6 separate regions of the Homo sapiens genome follow, and regions 2, 3, 4, 5 and 6 are each linked to region 1. The links are contacts of gene promoters, found by promoter capture Hi-C in blood cells and fetal thymus (Javierre and others, 2016). All regions are on one chromosome and are shown on one strand. Each heading gives the region's core, a stretch centred on a gene start or on the middle of the fragment in contact. The rest is flanking DNA. Distances are from core to core; before and after follow the strand shown. Region 1 holds the start of MTHFD1L (methylenetetrahydrofolate dehydrogenase (NADP+ dependent) 1 like). Region 2 overlaps AKAP12 (A-kinase anchoring protein 12). Region 3 overlaps AKAP12 (A-kinase anchoring protein 12). Region 4 overlaps ZBTB2 (zinc finger and BTB domain containing 2). Region 5 overlaps AKAP12 (A-kinase anchoring protein 12). Region 6 overlaps AKAP12 (A-kinase anchoring protein 12).

What was found. Contacts are between HindIII fragments. The CHiCAGO score rates a contact against its expected background, and 5 or more counts as called.
Region 2: a contact is called between a fragment that was not itself captured here and the fragment with the promoter of MTHFD1L in region 1, in 1 of 17 cell types (M1 macrophages). The highest score is 5.8, in M1 macrophages.
Region 3: a fragment that was not itself captured here is called in contact with the fragment with the promoter of MTHFD1L in region 1 in 2 of 17 cell types (M2 macrophages and M0 macrophages); the score reaches 7.6 in M2 macrophages.
Region 4: a fragment that was not itself captured here is called in contact with the fragment with the promoter of MTHFD1L in region 1 in 2 of 17 cell types (M0 macrophages and M2 macrophages); the score reaches 7.3 in M0 macrophages.
Region 5: a fragment that was not itself captured here is called in contact with the fragment with the promoter of MTHFD1L in region 1 in 2 of 17 cell types (neutrophils and M1 macrophages); the score reaches 6.0 in neutrophils.
Region 6: a contact is called between a fragment that was not itself captured here and the fragment with the promoter of MTHFD1L in region 1, in 5 of 17 cell types (monocytes, M2 macrophages, megakaryocytes and 2 more). The highest score is 8.5, in monocytes.

The regions. Positions count from the first base shown.
Region 1 is chr6:150,864,406-150,867,441 of GRCh38, reverse strand. It overlaps MTHFD1L (methylenetetrahydrofolate dehydrogenase (NADP+ dependent) 1 like), which reads right to left and starts at 1,740. Exons shown (of 28, transcript NM_015440.5): 1 at 1,393-1,740. The coding sequence starts at 1,619. RefSeq lists silencers at 569-718, 839-1,038, 1,199-1,608, 1,669-1,898. The HindIII fragment of the contact is 12,675 bases long and covers 1-3,036 here.
Region 2 is chr6:151,299,301-151,302,500 of GRCh38, reverse strand. All of the region lies in intron 2 of AKAP12 (A-kinase anchoring protein 12), which reads right to left. Among named protein-coding and RNA genes, the nearest start is that of AKAP12, 61 kb to the right of the region's middle. The HindIII fragment of the contact is 202 bases long and covers 1,494-1,695 here.
Region 3 is chr6:151,348,081-151,351,064 of GRCh38, reverse strand. It overlaps AKAP12 (A-kinase anchoring protein 12), which reads right to left. Exons shown (of 5, transcript NM_005100.4): 4 at 1-2,354. Among named protein-coding and RNA genes, the nearest start is that of ZBTB2, 42 kb to the left of the region's middle. The HindIII fragment of the contact is 587 bases long and covers 1,122-1,708 here.
Region 4 is chr6:151,366,904-151,370,245 of GRCh38, reverse strand. All of the region lies in intron 2 of ZBTB2 (zinc finger and BTB domain containing 2), which reads left to right. Among named protein-coding and RNA genes, the nearest start is that of ZBTB2, 23 kb to the left of the region's middle. The HindIII fragment of the contact is 6,019 bases long and covers 1-3,342 here.
Region 5 is chr6:151,282,732-151,285,704 of GRCh38, reverse strand. The region is part of intron 2 of AKAP12 (A-kinase anchoring protein 12); the gene reads right to left. Among named protein-coding and RNA genes, the nearest start is that of AKAP12, 44 kb to the right of the region's middle. RefSeq lists enhancers at 1,494-1,543, 1,554-1,603. The HindIII fragment of the contact is 1,670 bases long and covers 781-2,450 here.
Region 6 is chr6:151,327,828-151,330,794 of GRCh38, reverse strand. All of the region lies in intron 3 of AKAP12 (A-kinase anchoring protein 12), which reads right to left. Among named protein-coding and RNA genes, the nearest start is that of ZBTB2, 62 kb to the left of the region's middle. The HindIII fragment of the contact is 6,146 bases long and covers 1-2,967 here.

The sequences.
Region 1 (3,036 bases), core at 491-2,990:
GCAGGGATGATGGCTTGCGCCCAGGAGTTCCAGACCAGCCTGGTAACAGAGTGGTGCTCTGTCTCTATGAAAATAAAATAAAATAATCCGGGCATGGTAGCGCACACCTGTGGTCCCAGTTACACTGGAGGCTAAGGCGGGAGAATCGCTTGAGCCCAGGAGGCGGAGGCTGCATTGAGCCGAGATGGCACCACTGAACTCCAGCCTGAGCAACAAAGCGAGACTCCATTTCTAAAAGAAAAAGAAGACAGAGAACAAGAAAAACTAAATAAATGGCCCCTTAAAATCATCCGCCACATAATAAAGAGCCTAGGAAACGTATTTTACTGAGATGGGAGAAGGGGAGTGGGGAGGAAAATGGGAGAGCAGAGGGAGGAAGGAAAGGCAGAGAGAAAGGCAAGCAGGCAATGACTAAGAAAGAAGGCTAGAAGGAAAGGGAAGAGGATGTGAATGGAGGAGGTGGTCCGCTGGCCGGGGAAACCGCATCCTGGAACTCGTTCCTAATCCCAGTTCCGAGGGAGGCGGAAGGGGCTTTCTTGCCACCCCCAAGTTGTCCCGAAGGGCTCGCCCTGCAAGGCCCGAGACCCGTGCGCCCCTCTGGGCGAGGGCGGGGAAGGCTGGAGCCCAGGGGCGGGGACCGGGACGGGAAAGGCCGGGCCCGGGGCTCCCAGTTCGCTCTGGGCCCGCAGAAAACCCTGCAAACCCAGCTGCGCGGGGACTCCGTGGGCGCTGCGCGGCGAAGCTGGAAACCAGCGCTGAGACCTCTCGGATTCCCCCCGGCGGCTGTCCCGGGGGCCCGGCTCCACCTTTGCCGTTCCGGGAAAAGCGGACGTCAGCCACAGACCCCAGCCCAGCAGGAGGGGCCGCGCGCGGGGAAGGGCGCACAACACCAGGGAGCTTCGCGCGGGCGGCGCTGGGCCCGAGCCCGCCTCTCCCGAGCTCCGCTTGCCCTTCCCGAACCCCGGGCCAGCCGGCGCGCCGAGCCGCAGCCCCGCCCTCCTCCTGCTCCTCGCCCCCTCCCCTGGTTTCCGCCCCAGCCGCACCGCCCCTTTACCGTCTGGGTCGCGCCCGGCGCGATTGCATCAGAGCCGGCGGCCGGCTGCGCACGTGGAGCCGGGCGTGCGGTCCATGCCGCTAGGCGCCCATTGGAGATGCCCACGCCCACCTGCGCTGCGGGCCCGGTCGGGTACTGGATCCCCCGTTCTCCGCCAGCGCTCCCGGCCGCAGTGCCCAAGCCCGCGTTTCCCGACACACCGCCCGGCCCCCCTAATGAGTTGGCACCAAACACTCGCAGCCCCGCGCCCCGCTCCCCACGGCGGTCCCGGGCGCTCCGCCCCTGGGTCGGGGCCACAGCCGCTGGAGACCTGGGCCAGGGCCAGACCCGACACTCACCTGACGATGGAGTCCCGCGCCGCGGGCGTTCGGCCGCCGGGGCTGCAGCTGCTCCGGGCCTGGCCATCCTGCGGCCGCCGCTGTCCAAGCAGGCCCTCCCGGCCACCGCCGCCGCCTCCGCCGCCGCCGCTGCTAGCGCGACAGGGCACACGGAGGCGGCGCGGAGGGCCCGGGGGCTGGGGCGGGCGGCGGAGCTGGCGCAGGACGAGCGGCAGACGCGTGCCCATGGCGCGGGACGGCTGGTTCTCAGGGGACACGGAGCTGCGGCTGCCGAGGGCGGCGGGGCGCGTGCCAGGGGAGCAGGCGGCGGCGGCGGCGGCGGCGGCGGGAAGGACCTGGCGCTTCCTCCTCGTCCCAGGGGCCCCTAGGGGGCACTGCACCCGGCGGCCGTGACGTGCGGAGGGCGGGGGCCTGCGAGCCGCCGGCCGGGATGTCACGGCTTTGGGCACTTTGGTTTGGTAAGCTGTACCAGACAGAGGGTGGGGTGCGGAGTGGGACTCAGACTCTGCCCTGAGACTCAGCCTCCCTCCCTTCAGCCTGAAAGGCCGAGGTGACCCTTGGTACTCAGGGCGCCAAGTTTAGACGGGAGGGCTTGGATTTGCTGTACTGGAGGTGGCCTGAGGATAAGAGGCTTTGTAACCTTAGGCAGGGGCACTTAATCTCGGTGAGCTTGCGGGGTCTTCGTCAGTACCACAGAGATAACAATGCTCTTCTTAAAACCTTAAAAGGATTTTATAGTCCTGATTGGTTCCAGGGCCCCTCCAGGGGACCCACGTCCACAAATGCTCAAGTCCTTGGTAAAAAAAAAAAAAAAAAAAAGTGTTTGCATATCACCTACACACATCTTCCCATCATAAACTTTAGGTCATCTCCACATTCCCTAAGTCCTCACCTAACATCGTGGAGGGGTTCTTGGAAACTGAAACTTTAAGCCAAATGACTGTAAGGAAAACAGTTTGACCACAGGCTAATTGATATGAGTGAAGTTCCTACAACATATCTGTGGTCACAAAATCGCCCCTAAACTTCGAAATAAAGACCAAAACACTTCTAATATTAAACATTGAAATAAGTGTGAGCCATGCATATATTTAAGGAAGATTTTTAGCTCACGCCTATAATCCCAACACTTTGGGAGGCTGAGGTGGGCAGATCACGTGAGGCCAGAAGTTCAAGACCAGCTTGGCCAACATGGCGAAACCCCATCTCTACTAAAAATACAGAAAATTGGCTGGGTGTGGTGGCGCGTGCCTGTATTCTCAGCTACTCGGGAGGCTGAGGCAGGAGAATCGCTTGAACCCAGGAGCCAGAGGTTGCAGTGAGCCGAGATCATGTCACTGTACTCTAGCCTGGGCGACAGAGCACAGCTCTGTCTCAAAGAAAAAGTTTTTTTTAAACACCCCCTATCCCTCTCGCTTAGAGAAAAATAAAGATTAATAAAAGTGAGATCATTTTTACCGGCTTATTCCAACTCAGGGCACCTCACAGGGTGTGCTCACACACACCCACACTCACACTCGGATCGTGTAGATGCACCAATTTACCTAAAGTGCACTGCACGGCTTTGGGATGTGACAGGACACCAGAAGACAGAGAAAATCCACACAGACATGGATAAAACGTGACAGTGGACCCAGCCAGAAA
Region 2 (3,200 bases), core at 345-2,844, 440 kb before region 1:
ACACAGGCACAAATTTCCGTCTACTCTTTTAGAAATGTTACTGAGCCGGGCACTGTGACGTGCGCTGTAGTCCCAGCACTTAGGAGACTGAGGCAGGAGGATTGCTTGAGCCCAAAAGTTTGAGGCCAGCCTGGACAACATAGAGAGACCCTCGTCTCCAAATAAAAACATCATTTAAAAAAGAGATGTTACACCAGGCGCAGTGGCTCATGCCTTTAATCCCAGCACTTTGGGAGGCCGAGGCAGGCAGATCATGAGGGCAGGAGATCGAGACCATCCTGGCTAACATGGTGAAACCCCGTCTCTACTAAAAATGCAAAAAATTAGCCAAGTGTGGTGGTGTGCGCCTATAATCCCAGCTACTAGGGAAGCTGAGGCAGGAGAATCACTTGAACCTGGGAGGCGGAGGTTGCAGCGAGCTGAGATCACGCACTCCAGCCTGGGCAACAGAGGGAGACTCCGTCTCTTAAAAAAAAAAAAAGAAAAAAAAAAGAGATGTTACACACACATAGCAAAGTACATTAGATGATAAAAAGAAGGACCCTTAAAAACTGAGGTCAAATGCTACACATCCTTACATCCTAAGTATGATAATGAATACATTATGAGATACTAATTTTCAGTAACCACAGGGTAACTGTCCCTACTTGAGAAAGGCCGTAGATACATTATTAACTTCGGTAGAAAACGATTTATGACAGTGACGTTACTGAACCTGAGTTTTGAGTCTATTTTACTATGTGAATAGCTTGCGTCCCGCCAGGGTACCCAAGCTTTGACCTCAAGGGTGATGTCTCAGGTGAGCTTTCAGAGCCTATGAGGCACCAACATCCGCACAAAATGGGACTTCATTCCTAGTCAGATTGTCACATTCAGACATGTCCACACTTTTGCAAATCCCACGTGTTGTTAAAGATGGATAATTCCCTTTATTTCACTCCAAATCAAAAGTGTTTTTGTTTTTTCTTCCATCCCCAAACCGTCTAAATAAGTCATACCGTTGTTAAAAATTCACGGACTTCTGAGAGTTATCAATAAGTTAAAGTCACCTCAAATAGAGGAAATCAAACCTACATTCATTTAAGTCTTTTCTGTGTTTTCTACGTGTGTATATATACAGGCACAAGCATTCACTTAAAAAATAATGGGGAACACGTGTTATTTTATGACCTGATGGTTTCATACATTGTGGGTACATTTCTTTATTAATAAACACGCACCTTGCTTAACTTCAATCAGTCTCTCCTGTCTGCAACTCAAATGGCCACAGAAGACAGGATTTACACACAGCTCTGCCCAGAGAGACCCTGAAAGATGCAGACACAACATAGTGGCACATGGGACAGGAGGCGGTGGAACCAGATGGGATTCATTGGAGCCAGATGGGATTCGAGGACCACCCATTTCAGGGAGGAAAGTAATACTGGGACTTAACTGTTACCAAACAAGAAAGAAGGAGGAAATGTATATTTCACTTTTTCCACTCCGAAGCTTCCTCGCATAGCTTTATCCCTCCACCCTGAACTTAGTTTTATAAATAGTTATTTCTTTTGAGATGAGAACTAGACTTGAAAGACACGCTCCTTACACTTAAACATGGTAAGCACCAGAAAACCTATTTTCCCACTGGATTTGTGCTTCAAAAAGCACAAATGCCTCCTTTGAACAAATCAAAACCCTAAATGTTTTCAAGCTTATATCCTTTGAGTGGGTCAGCCAGAGTTTATTCCCATGAAGTATTACCACATTACAACTAAACAAGCTGTTAAAAAAAAAAAAGACCCTAAAAACCTCAAATGTTTCCAGCAACAGTGTTTTCCTCTCATTTCTGTAAGAACAACAACCAAGAATGTCCAAGTGGTAGCCAAGGCACCACAGAAAAACTAGGAGACTTCTCCATCCACTTCCTTCTCCACAGGAGTCCACAACGTGCTAGGGACCTCCTTTGCAGAGTAAGAAACAGGAGTACCAGGCTGTTTAATGAAGTTGTGAAATGATGAGCCCTTGACAGCTGTCAGGATGCCAGGGGCAGAGGAGGTAAGCCAACCAAAGCAACCCTTTTCACTGCAGAAGTGATACTCCCAGATCTACATCCTCATTGGACGACCGGGTGCAAGTGGCCCAGCACTCCTGCAGTTCACACAGTAGACGAGGCTCCAAAGGGGCAATTCGTCCCACCCCGGGCAGTATGACCAAGAAGCAAACCTGTAAGTGGCCTTCGTGGGAAGGAACCAGAAGCCAATATAACCAGGACACACCCACAAATGATCAAATCATCAGACTTAAAGATTATCTGGAAGGAATTTTAAATCCCACGACAAAACTTGTAAAGAAACCTCTTCATTGTGTTTTCTCCTTCATTCTAATAGAAAGTGTTTTGAAAGTAAATCTTTAAAAATGTCAAACAAAAAAAATAAAAACCAGAGTACAAATCAGTAAACAATATCCCTGGAAGGCAATTTGGAAATAGGGATAGAATTTTAAATACGCAAACCCATTAGCTACACCATGCCATTCTAATAGATATGGCATTACATATTTATGAGGTGCAACACATAATAACTTATAATAGGGTTGGGCGTGGTGCCTCATGCCTATAATTCCAGCACTTTGGGAGGCTGAGGCAGGAGGATGGCTTTAAGCCAGGAGTTTGAGACCAGCCTGGGCAACAAACTGAAACCCAGTCTCTACAAAGGAAAAATAAATAAGTAATAAATACTTCATAATAGCAAAAAAAAAAAAAACCCTTAAATGTCTATCAGTAGAGGGGAGTAGTTAAATTATGAAATGTTCATGCAATAGACAACATCAAAAGCTATGAGGTAGATTTAGACACACTCATGTGTGAAGATGTCCCTGGCTTAAGGGGGAAAAGAAGCAAGTTGCTGAGAATGATTCTTTTATGTGTTTAAAACCAAACTAAACAAAAATAACCCACTGACAAAGAGGGAGAGGAAGAGGAAAAGGGAGAGAGAAAAGGAGTCAATGTTTGTGTAAGCATTTTTTTTAAAGTCTGGAACAATATGTACCAAATCTTTAATAATGGTTACCTCTATGGCATTGTTGTTGTTTGGTTTTATCCTCTTAGAGGGAAATTGGGAGAACAGACACGGTTTCCTTTTTACTCACTTTATCACTGTAGAAGTGAAAATACATTGAACCCTAAAACTCATAGATTCTTAGGCTTCAAGCATGTTAAT
Region 3 (2,984 bases), core at 166-2,665, 480 kb before region 1:
CATATGAACCTGACTCTCGCTGAGCTCCTTGGACACCTCAGTGGCTGCCTTCTGCTCGGGCTGCTCTGCGCTTTTTTGGGCTTGCTGTGCCTCCATTTTCTCCCTTTCTACAGCATCATACTCAGACAGAGGGACCACGGCCGGGACATCAGAGTCATCTTCGTTGGCCCCTGTTGGCCCTGCGTCTTCAACAGGGGCTTGTTCTTGTTTCCCATCTGGCCTTTTCTTCCTTCGTCCAGGAATAAACTTCTTGATTGAGACCCAGGATTCTTCTTTACCGGGTTCAGTGTCTGGAGTGGAATGTTCTACACCAGACCCAGCTATGGAGTCTTCGCTTTTCTCTTCCAGCTTGGACTTTGATTTTTTTCTTGGCGTGACTAACCTTTTAAATGACTCCCAGGTGGAAACGCCCTCCCCTTCGGTAGGGCTTCCAGCTTGCTCCGGGGAGGAACTTCCCTGCCCTGGATCATGTTCTTGGGAACCAGCAAGGATCCCGTCTGTCCCCGTCTCTTTGTCTTTTCCGGCCTCATCAGCTTTCTGGTGGTCTCCTCCCATTGCTTTTGGTCCCCCTTCCTCATCAGAAGAGGACCCTCTCCTTGCTCTTTTCTTGGATGATCCCACACAAATTAAAGCTTCCCAAGATACTGAGGTATCCACCTTGCGCTTTGGTTCTTCCGGCTTTGGCTCTTCCACGCTCCCTTTCATTTCTTCTTGCATTTCAGAGGCTGTGCTCTCGGTGGAAGACAAGGTAGCGCTCTTGACCTTGTCCAGCTCATCTTCTTTATCACTTTCCGAAGGCCGTCTAACACGCTTCTTGGGCGTCACCATCTTTTTGAATGATGCCCAGGGAGTGACACCTTCTCTTTTTTTCTCTCCATCGGAAGTAGCTCCTTCTTCAGCTTCCCCATCCTGCTGCACCTCGGCTAAGCCCTTTTCCAGACACGTGATCTCCTCGGGCTCCTCAGGGGATGAGGCAGAGCTCTCGCCCTTTTGCTCCTCCTGGCTGTCCGGAGAATCGGCTGGAACCTGAGTGTGCTCCCCTGATTCCTCGTCTCCTCCTCCTCTTTTCCCTTTCTGTTTCTTTCCAGAAAGCTTTTTTAAGCCAGTGCTGGTAAAAAGCTTCTTTAGTGGACTTCCCTGCACCTTCATTCTCTCCTGTGATGACAGCATTTCCACCTCACTCACAACGCCTTCGGGGGGTTTGGACAGCACCTTCTCATCAGGACTGAGGTCAGCTCCCTGTGTAGGGTCCTCTCCGGAAACACACGTTTCTTTGAGCTTCACCAGCTCCTTGGCAGGTTCAGCTTCCTGAGGTTCTGCATCCATTTCAACCAATTCTTCAGCTGGCACAGACCCTGCTGTTTCTTCCACCTCCGTTTTCTGCTCTTCGGTTCTCTCCTCCACGGTGCTGACGTGGACTTCGGCCACAACCTCTTCTTGGTGGACTTCTATTTTCTCATCAAACACTTCTGTCGCCAACGGAGCAGGTTTCTCTTCAGAAGGTCCCTGCGAGCCACTGACTTGCTCCTCTGAGGGCAGCTCAACTTTCTCATATTCAGCTGATAACCGGGGCTCGTGGGCACTTTCTGCCGGCTCCTGTGGGTGGGCTTGCTCGGAGGCGGTCAGTTTCTCGGAGGCAACCTCTGCCTTTCCGTCTTCTTCTGTGTCTACTTTTTCTGGCTCTTGTTCCTTTTTCTTCTCTGAAGCTTCCACTTCATCCTCCTTCGGCTTCCTGAAACTGGTCTTTTTGCGCCAGCCGGCCCAACCTTGAGTGAAGAATTTTTTGAAGGTTGATCCTGTTTCACTGGTCACGGGACTAGTCGGAGATTCTGCAGACTTGCTAGGTTCTTTTTCTTGTTTCTCTTCTCCTTCCTCTTTGCATTCCTCCACTGCTTGGCCAGATTCGGCTGGGGGAGAAATTTCTGCGTGGCTTTGCTCACGCTTCAGGGTCTCTTCGGGTTTCTCTGTAGATTGTTTGGGTTCGCTTTCTTTGGATGCTGCTTCTCCAGCCCCAAGGCTGGGGTCCTTGTGGTCGCCAGCCCCTGCTGCTCCCTCCCCTTCATCTTTCTTCACAGTGAGTAGCTGGACAGTGTCAGGCTTCTCTGTCTTATCCTTTTTCACAGTGAATTTAAAGCCAACAAACTTAAACACCTTCTTAAATCCAATATCATTAGCCTGGGACTCAGTGGGTTGTGTTAGCTCTTCTAAATTGCTTTCTGAAGAAGGAATCTGTTCGATTATTTCGGGTGTCTCCTCCTGCCCATCATCTGTGATGTCGTGAACAACCGCTGACTTAGTAGCCATCTCTTTATCGGAGTCTCTTTTGCTCACATCTTCAGAGTCTCTCTGTCCAACTATTAACAAAAAGGGGCGGGGGGGTGGGGAGAAGAGAAAAGGTGATTACAATACAAGAAAATTGTTTTTCTCCGACAGGGCCTCACTCTCTTGCCCCGGCTGGAGGGCAGTGGTGTGGTCTCGGCTCACTGCAGCCTCAACCTCCCAGGCTCAAGGAATCCTCCCACCTCAGCATCCCGAGTAGCTGGGACTACAGGCACATGCCACCATGTCCAGCTAAGTTTTTTATTTTCTGTAGAGATGAGATCTCACTATGTTGTCCAGGCTGCTCTCCAACTGCTGGGCTCAAGTGACCCTCCTGTCTCAGCTTCTCAAAGCAGTGGGATTACAAGTGTGAGCTATAGTGCCTAGCCCAAGAAAATTAACTTTTTTTTTTTTTTTTTTTGAGACAGAGTCTCACTCTGTCGCCCAGGCTGGAGCACAGTGGCACGATCTCGGTTCACTGCAACCTCTGTCCTAGGTTCAAGTGATTCTCCCACCTCAGCCTCCTGATTAGCTGGGATTACAGGCGTCTGTCACCATGCCCAGCTAATTTGTTTTTTTTGTTTGTTTTTTTTGAGATGGAGTCTCACTCTGTCACCCAGGCTGGAGTGCAGAGGCACGATCGTGGCTCACTGCAAGCTCCGCCT
Region 4 (3,342 bases), core at 117-2,616, 500 kb before region 1:
GAGAATTGCTTGAACCCGGGAGGCGGAGGTTGCAGTAAGCCGAGATCGTGTCACTGCACTCCAGCCTGGGCAACAAGAGTGAAACTCCATTTCAAAACAAAAAAAAATGTTATGTCAAACATATCTGGAAACTACTTAGATGTAAGTATATTGTAGAGAACTATGTCCTTTCCACAGGACTGGGAAAAGACCAAAGTCTGGCGCATAGTGAGCTGAGTGATTGACAGAGGTCAAGCTGCCTGGAAATAAAAGCAGTCAGGGATGGAGATGGCTGAAATGTACATTAAGGAACTTTGAAAAATTCTACCTGTTTTTTGTTTGTTTGTTTGTTTGTTTTGAGATGGAGTCTCGCTCTTGTCGCCCAGGCTGGAGTGCGATCCCAGTAGCTGGGGTTACAGCTGCGCACCACCACGCCCGGCTAATTTTTGTATTTTTAATAGAGACAGGGTTTTGCCATGTTGGCCAGGCTGGTCTTGAACACCTGACCCCAGGTGATCCACCCACCTCGGCCTCCCAAAGTGCTGGGATTATAGGCATTAGCCACTGCGCCCAGCCTCCACCTGTTTTTTAAGTGTATGTGTGCACATGTGCTTCTGCTTTAAAAAAAAAAATTTTTTTTTAAGGCTGCGTGCAGTGGTTCACGCCTGTAATCCCAATGCTGTAATCCCAAGGCTGAGGCAGGAGGATTTCTTGAGCCCAGGAGTTCAAGACCAACCTGGGCAAGATGGTGAGGCCCTGTCTCTATAAAAGTTTAAAAATTAGCTGGGTGTAGTGGCATGTGCCTATAGTCTGAGCTACTCAGGAGGCTGAGGCTGCAGTCAGCTATGATCATGCCACTGCACTCCAGCCTGGGCCTACAGAGCAAGACCCCCTCTCTCAAAAAAAATTGTTTTTAATCAAAATAAATTGGTGTTTGGAGACCTCCTTGGGCCCTCGCATCCCTGGCTGTAAACCCCAGGGACTCGCCGCTTTCTTTTCCCTGGCCCCTTGGAGTCCTCCCTCCAGGCCTGCCTAAAGTGTGGGCCAAGGTGTCCCCAGCTGTGTCCCTTTTTTGCCATCTGAGACTGTACATAGTTCTTTCAAATTTGAGAGGCTTACCGTTGAGTCACCATTCATAAGTGATAGATAAGACAGCCTATCCAACAATGAATGAGAAAAGAATTACAAAATTTACACCAAAGTCAGCCAGGCGCGGTGGTTCATGCCTGTAATCCTAGCACTTTGGGAGGCCGAGATGGGCAGATCACTTGAGGTCAGGAGTTCAAGACCAGCCTGGCCAACACAGTGAAATCCTGTCTCTACTAAAAAAAATACAAAAATTAGCTGGGCCTGGTGGCGGGCACCTGTAATCCCAACTTGGGAGGCGAAGCAGAAGAATCACTTGAACCTGGGAGGCGGAGATTGCAGTGAGCCAAAATCATGCCACTGCACTCCAGCCTGGGCAGCAGAGCAAGACTTCGTCTCAAAATTAAAAAAAAAAAGAAAGAAAAATGACCAGGCGCAGTAGCTCACGCCTGTAATCCCATCACTTTGGGAGGCCGAGGTGGGCAGATCACCTGAGGTCAGGAGTTCGAGACCAGCCTGGCCAACATGGCAAAACCCCATCCCTACTAAATACACAAAAACTAGCCGGGACTGGTGGCACACGCCTGTAATCCCAGCTACTCGGGAGGCTGAGGAAGGAGAATCACTTGGACGAGGGGATGGAGGGTGCAGTGAGCTGAGATTGTGCCACTGCACTCCAGCCTGGTGACAGAGTGAGACTCTGTCTCAAAACAAAACAAAAAACAACAAAGTTGCCAGGCGCGGTGGCTCACACCTGTAATCCCAGCACTTTGGGAGGCCGAGGCGGGCAGATCACGAGTTCAGCAGATCAAGACCATCCTGGCTAACATGGTGAAACCCCGTCTCTACTAAAAATACAAAAAGAAATTAGCCGGGTGTGGTGGCGGACACCTGTAGTCCCAGCTACTCTGGAGGCTGAGGCAGGAGAATGGTGTGAACCCGGGAGGCGGAGCTTGCAGTGAGCCGAGATCGCACCACTGCAGTCCAGCCTGGGTGACAGAGCAAGACTCCGTCTCAAAAAAAGAAAAGAAAAGAAAATATTTGTTAATCAAATGAACATGATTGCTAAAAGGGCCAAAGAAGATTACAATACAAAAAGTATAATAAAAGAAAATTATAAATTCTAAAAGCATTCAAGGAAGCTGTCTTTGAATTTGAAATGCATTGTCTATAGAATATCCACTCAGTGGAATATAATATATACCTTGTGATATGTGGATATAGATCTCACTAATTTCTAATGATGCTTTAGAATTTGTTACTACCGATGGTCTGGGAAGAGTTCTTGGGAACCTCTTCATTATTACTGCTTGATCAGGAATGATGTTTCTGAAATGATAAAAGGAGTAGAATCTAAAGTTATAAAATTAATAGCATCTTCAACGGCTTTAGGTGCCTTAGATAAATCACTTAACTTTTTGGGACCTCAGTTTCCATATCTGTCAAATCGGACTAAATAAATCCACTTTATCTACCATACAGGATTGTTTTGATTCTCTAAAGGATCTTGCTGTGGTGGCTTTGGACTTAGACAAACATTGTTTCAAATACCAGCTCCACCTCTTACCAACTACATGATATTGAGCAGGTTATTAACCCTCTAATCCTCAATCCTTTCCTGTAAAATGAGAATGAATGACAATCAAGTGAGAAGGCATCCCTGTAAAGCCCAGGAGCAGTGCTGATGTTGATGGTGGCATTTGATAAGGAACTCCTGGAGTTCTGTATAAAAATAGAATACATAATATTTAATTTAACTTGGCCAGGCGTGGTGGCTCACGCCTATAATCCCAGCACTTTGGGAGGCCAAGGAGGGCTGATCACTTGAGGTCAGGAATTGGAGACCACCCTGGCCAACATGGTGAATCCCCGTCTCTATTAAAAATACAAAAATTAACTGGGCGTGGTAGTGAGCGCCTGTAATCCCAGCTACTCGGGAGGCTGAGGCAGGAGAATCACTTGAACCTGGGAGGCGGAGCTTGCAGTGAGCCGAGATTGTGCCATTGCATTCCAGCCTGGGTGACAGAGTGAGACTCCGCCTCAAAAAAAAAAAAAAATTAACTTACTAGGAGAAAAACTGCTCTAAGAATCTGTGGATTAAGATATCACATTTCTTTAACGTGAACTTCGTCTCTTGATTATTTCATCCCATTTTCATGAAACTTACTAAAAATCAAGGATAGGAAATGTTGTTTCCTTTGTTTTTAAGCATTCATTTTTTTCTTCAGGCTTTATGTTAACACCTAGACTGGCATTTACTCACGTATTTTTTTACTT
Region 5 (2,973 bases), core at 366-2,865, 420 kb before region 1:
CTTCTTTTCCCCTCCACAACTCACCCAAATGATAGACTGTGATACTTTAAATTTTTTTGTTTTTGTTTACATAATCCTCCCCCCTTTTTTGCATGAAATTGATTTTTTTTTTTAACCCAAGACATTACAACCAGAGAAGTCACCGCAAGAAAGGACTTTGCTATAATACTCAATTGTCTCAAACTTTCTGGTTATTGTTCTTTAAAAAAATCCTTTTTTCATCTTTTCCACAAACTCTCCATTAAGAATTATAAGCTCTTTGGTAATCAGTAGATTGAAATAGATACACACACACACACACACACACACACACACACACAGTGAAATGCAGCTCTCTGATGTGTACTTCCTGGCAAGGAAAAAATAGTTCAATAGCAAACTCAGTAATGTGAATCACTGCCAAGACAGGAAAACATTATTTGGTATCCACTCCTATGACAATGGGAAAAATAGTTCTGAGAGTGAAAAGTTTTTATACCAATTAGGTTATGTCCTCTAAAACTGTTTCCAGTTATTGCTTCTGGGGACAGAGGGGACAATATATTTGCTTTGATATGTAAGTTTTCACAATGGAGCATTAGTCTTACTTGGTCTCAATACACTCCCCACTCTGTCGTTCATAAATCATGTTCTTCACATTAACTATTCCTAAAATAAAGTGCCTGAATCTTGCAGTCCAGACCCACCACATGCTCATACTGCATCTTGCATTTCATTCTCTTTGTTGACCTCCAAGTTCACTCTCCAAAGCCTCTGAATGTTCATCATTTTGCAAAAGCTTTGGTTCCACCCTGGGTCCCCATGCGTTAGTCAACATTTGATTAATCCCTGTGATGGGTTCCTATGTCATCTGGATGCGTCAAGTCAAAAGGAAGTGCCACACATCAAAGACAGAGTACTAAGACACATAGTACTAACAGGGAGGGGTCTCTTTCAGTTCTGTTGATAAGAGAAAGTGTACCAGAAAAAGTTGAGTTTTGAGCTGGATCTGAATAGGCAAAAAGTACCAATGGCAGGGAAGAGAGAAATAAGACATCGACATGTGTTCATTCTTTGTTTTTGGTTTCGGTTTTGTTTGAGACAGGGTCTTGCTCTGTTGCCCAGACTGGAGTGCAGTAGCTCAGTTATGGCTCACTGCAGCTCTGACCTCTCAGGCTCAAGCAATACTCCAGCCTCAGCCCCCCAAGTAGCTGGGACTACAGGCGCACACTGCCACACCCAGCTAATTTTTTTGTATTTTTTGTAGAGACAGGGTTTCGCCATGTTGCCCAGGCTGGTCTCAAACTCCTGGGCTCAAGCGATCCTTCCACCTCGGCTTCCCAAAGTGCCGGGATTACAGGTGTTAGCCACCACACCCAGCCATGCATTCTTATTTATCTCATGTCAGGCAATGGCAAAGAGTGCAATGTGGAAGTGATGCCAGGAGTTCTGGTAACGACATGACTCAACGTGCAGGTTTCAAAGATCACTGCATACCTGGTGAACGATGTGTGACACTGATCTGTGCAGACAGAAGTCAGAATGTAATGGAGCAATAACCAGGAGGAGATGCAAGGGAGGCTTCTGGGGCACTGGCGAGGTTCTCCAACCTGACCTGGGAGAGGGTTACTCGTGCGTTCACCTTGTAAGAACTCACCAAGCTATACGCTTAAGACTTGCTCGCTTTATCAGATATAAATTGACCACAGACAAACCCTAAAAACCCCCAAACCAGCAATCTGCCTGCAGAGAGGAGCTGAAGGAGAGCAAGCTGGAGGCAGGAAGGCTGCTGCTGTGTCCATTCAGGGGAGAAATGAAGCCAGGGAAGGCCCTGTGGACAGAATGGGTCGATGTGAAATGTCTTTGGAGATGAGGCCTGCGGGACTTGCCAACGGAAAAAGAATGACTCCCGGATTTGAGGTTTGGTTATGTCAGTGACAGCTTCTGAGCTCTCAGAAAAACACCTGACATTGCTTTTAACAGTGGGCTTTCTGTCTTTATACTGAATTCTGTCTCTGTCTCTCCCTCTCTTAGGCATTCTCTGATCAGAATGCCTCGCCTTGAGAAGAGGCCCTACCTGTAAGGTTCCTTCACCTCTAGGTGCCTGCTTCCTCATTGGTACAATGGGGATTTATAAGTGTCTATCACAAGTGTACCAAGCGCGTAGGACAGACAGCACCTGACACAGTAAGCACTAGTCAGTGTCAGCCATTAGTATTACAGAAAACAAATCACTGCTTTTGTTACCCTGTCCCTCTATTTTCTGGGTCAACAGTGAGACCATGTCTTTACTTGATAATACTCTTTTTCAGGCAAAGAATTAGCATCCTCGTTGGAAAAGCCTAGAAACCTGGAGACCATCTTGGGCTTTTCTGCATCTTGGTCATCCTCATGCTCCCTCAAATCCTACCATTTCTTTTGTGTTCAATGCTGTCTGTACCCATTGCTTGATTTCTGCCCTAGTTCAAGCTTTAGCATTTCATGGTTGATTTAATGCAATATCCTAAGAGCTGATCTCCCTGCCTTTGAGTGCCTCTTGTTTAGTTCTACCTTAACGCTCAATCTGTCATGCTGGTCTCCTTTAGTTCCTAAAGTGTGCCTCCTCACCGTCATTAAATGGAGCCCAGCCTCCTTATACAAGGGCCTCCACTTTTCTAAAATCTCCTGCTACCCACTTTCATAAAGGCTCAGTCCTGGGCCGAGAAGTAAGAAAGAAATCCTGAATACTCTTCAACAGTCATCTAAATTTTTTCATAACATGAGTGCAGGCTATACTGTGGGAAATTAGCAAGAGCTTAGCCAAGATAAAAACTAAACTCCATGAAGATGAAGATAGCAACTTTCTTACAAATCTAGCACTTTATACATAATACACTTTATATAGTTAATGATTTCAAGTTTGACCAGCCTGAACATTGACAGTAATCAGGAATGAATAACCTGATAGGTAGACAGCAGGGAAAACATTATTCAACCAATAGACAAGAGAAGTCG
Region 6 (2,967 bases), core at 204-2,703, 460 kb before region 1:
ACTTAGCGATTAAGAGATAAATTATAAATTGTTTTCTTTTAGAGGCTTAAAAGAAAAAAAAACTTTAAAGGAATATGTTGATTATATACTACAAAATATTAATGTTTTTATCCAAAACTTAGCTATCAGGTTTCAGTGACACCAGCACCATCATTTTTGGTTGAGAAAAAGAAGTACGATACTGCAGAAACGACATGTTCATTTTTCAGGCTGAGAATCACCAGTGCTCCCCATCCCCAGGCACATCAGGACGGCTTACAGTAACATCTGGAACTAGTTATCTTTCCCCCAAGATTCGTAGCATTGTCCTGGAATTTTTCCAGGAATTCTCTGCATTCTAAGTCCATCCCTTATAGGCTACACACCCAATCTCCCTTGTTCTAAAGCTCATTAACCAGAAAACCTCCAAGCGGAGATATATGCAAATTCATAAAAGCAAGGATCCCATACTGGAGCATATAGGTGACATCATCATTGGACCTGGTGTGTTTTTTGGGGGGTGGGGTAGGGACAGGGTCTTGCTCTGTTGCTCAGGCTGGAATTCAGTGGTGCAAGTGATTCTCCTACCTCAGCTTCCCAAGTGACTGGGACTACAGGCATGTGCCACCATGCACAGCTAAATCTTTAATTTGTTGTAGAGAGGAGGTCTCCCCTACGTTGACCATGCTGGTCTCAAACTCCTGGACTCAAGCGATCCACCTGCCTTGGCCTCCCAAAGTGCTGGGATTACAGGCATAAGCCACCGTGCCCAGTCCCAATCCCTGGTCTTGATATTGATGTTTCACGATCCCTTAAACATCTGGGCAGGCATGTAAGAATGTGGGTCACTAAACAAGTATTAGCATCTTCACAACGAGAAAGAGGTCTTTTGCAAGGTACTCTACAGTTATGCTCTTTCTAGCTGTGAAACCTTGGGTAATTATCAAATCATGAGAAACTTACTTTTATGATAGAAATGGGGTTACAGAACCACTTTTTGCAGGATTATTGTGAGGAATACATGATAATGTCCACAAAGTGCTGAACAACACCTGCCAGACTAGGCACTCAGGAAGTGGTAGTTATTAATCCAGCAGTTGTGAAAGTATCAATTTCGTGTCTCCAAAGTCTCTTGACAAGGAATCTGTCTCCATAGCAGATGTGAAACACCCATGTGCAAGGTATTTTTTTCTCTTGTAAAAATTATTTGCATCGGAAAGTGCATTATAAATAATCTAGAACTAACATGAACGTTGGAGGATTGATTCTTCCCCAGTTTCTACTTTAAAGAATAATGTCCCTGTTTCTCATGATACTTCACAGTTTGCAATGTATCAATATTATCAGTTTCAGTAATGTGGGTGTTAGAGAAAAGCGAAAAGATACTTGCTTAATTCAAAAAGCATTTTTTTGGCCGGGCGTGGTGGCTCACACCACTTTGGGAGGCTGAGGCGGGTGGATCACCTGAGGTCAGGAGTTCAAGACCAGCCTGGCCAACATGGCGAAACCTCGTCTCTACTAAAAATACAAACATTAGCGGGGCGTGGTGGCAGGTGCCTGTAATCCCAGCTGCTTGGGAGGCTGAGGCAGGGAGAACTGCTTGAACCCGGGAGGTGGAGGTTGCAGTGAGCTGAGATCGCGCCACTGCACTCCAGCCTGGGTGACAGAGTGAGACTTCATCTCAAAAAAAAAGGCATTTTTATGCTGGCACGCCATTTACAGTTGAGTGGGGAAGGGGATGATCATCGTGTCACATCACTTATTTCTTGTCTCAAAGCTAACTTATTGCAAATGAGATGTGAGAGAAAGAGACCCCAAGAATGGCAACAGTATGTAATGTGAATAAGCAATCATTTCATAATTCAATTTCCACTGCATTCATTTTAGTGGTTTGTGTAAACTGGGTTGTGTGTGTGGCAGGGGGGAGGGGGATAATAGTATTAAGTGACAGCTTTTCCTTACTTTCAGAAATGCAAACTTGTTCCTAAGTAGTTCCTACAAAATGCCATCAGTCCTGTTAATGAATTGTAAAATTTAAACACAGGCCTCCTAAAATAACATAGTACTAAAGATAACTACAATAACCTTCTATAGTATTTAAGTGAATAATCCCAAAGATGCAAAGACCTTTAAGATTTCATTAAACCTTACTGTCAATTTAATTTTTTTTTTTTTTTTTGAGACGGAGTCTTGCTCTGTCACCCAGGCTGGAGTGCAGTGGCACAATCTTGACTCACTGCAACCTCTGCCTCCCAGGTTCAAGCAATTCTCCTGCCTCAGCCTCCCGAGTAGCTGGGATCACAGGTGCACACTACCACGTCCAGCTAATTTTTGTATTTTTAGTAGAGACGGGGTTTCACCATGTTGGTCAGGCTAGTCTTGTACTCCTGACCTCGTGATCCGCCCGCCTCCGCCTCCCAAAGTGCTGGAATCACAGGCGTGAGCCGCCGCGCCCGGCCACCTTACTGTCAATTTTTTTTTTTTTTTTGAGATGGAGTCTCGCTCTGTCGCCCAGGCTGGAGTGCAGAGGCGCGATCTCGGCTCACTGCAAGCTCTGCCTCCCGAGTTCACGCCATTCTCCTGCCTCAGCCTCCCAAGTAGCTGGGACTACAGGCACCCGCCACCACACCCGGCTAATTTTTTTGTATTTTTACTAGAGACGGGGTTTCACCGTGTTAGCCAGGATGGTCTCGATCTCCTGACCTCGTGATCCGCCCACCTCGGCCTCCCAAAGTCCTGGGATTACAGGCGTGAGCCACCGCGCCCGGTTGTTACTGTCAATTTTTAAAGCTCTCATGGCTTTTCAAGATTCTGAGCAACTATTTAAAGATGATGATTATGAATCTTCCCCATCAGAATAACTTGCGGAGCAAAAACCAAATGACAGCTGAAACTCCCTTTCATTTTTACTTTTTCCACTACGTAAGATTTCTTGCTGGTAAATTTTTGGAGTTAAGATTTTCTGTGCACTTTCTTCTTACCAGGAAA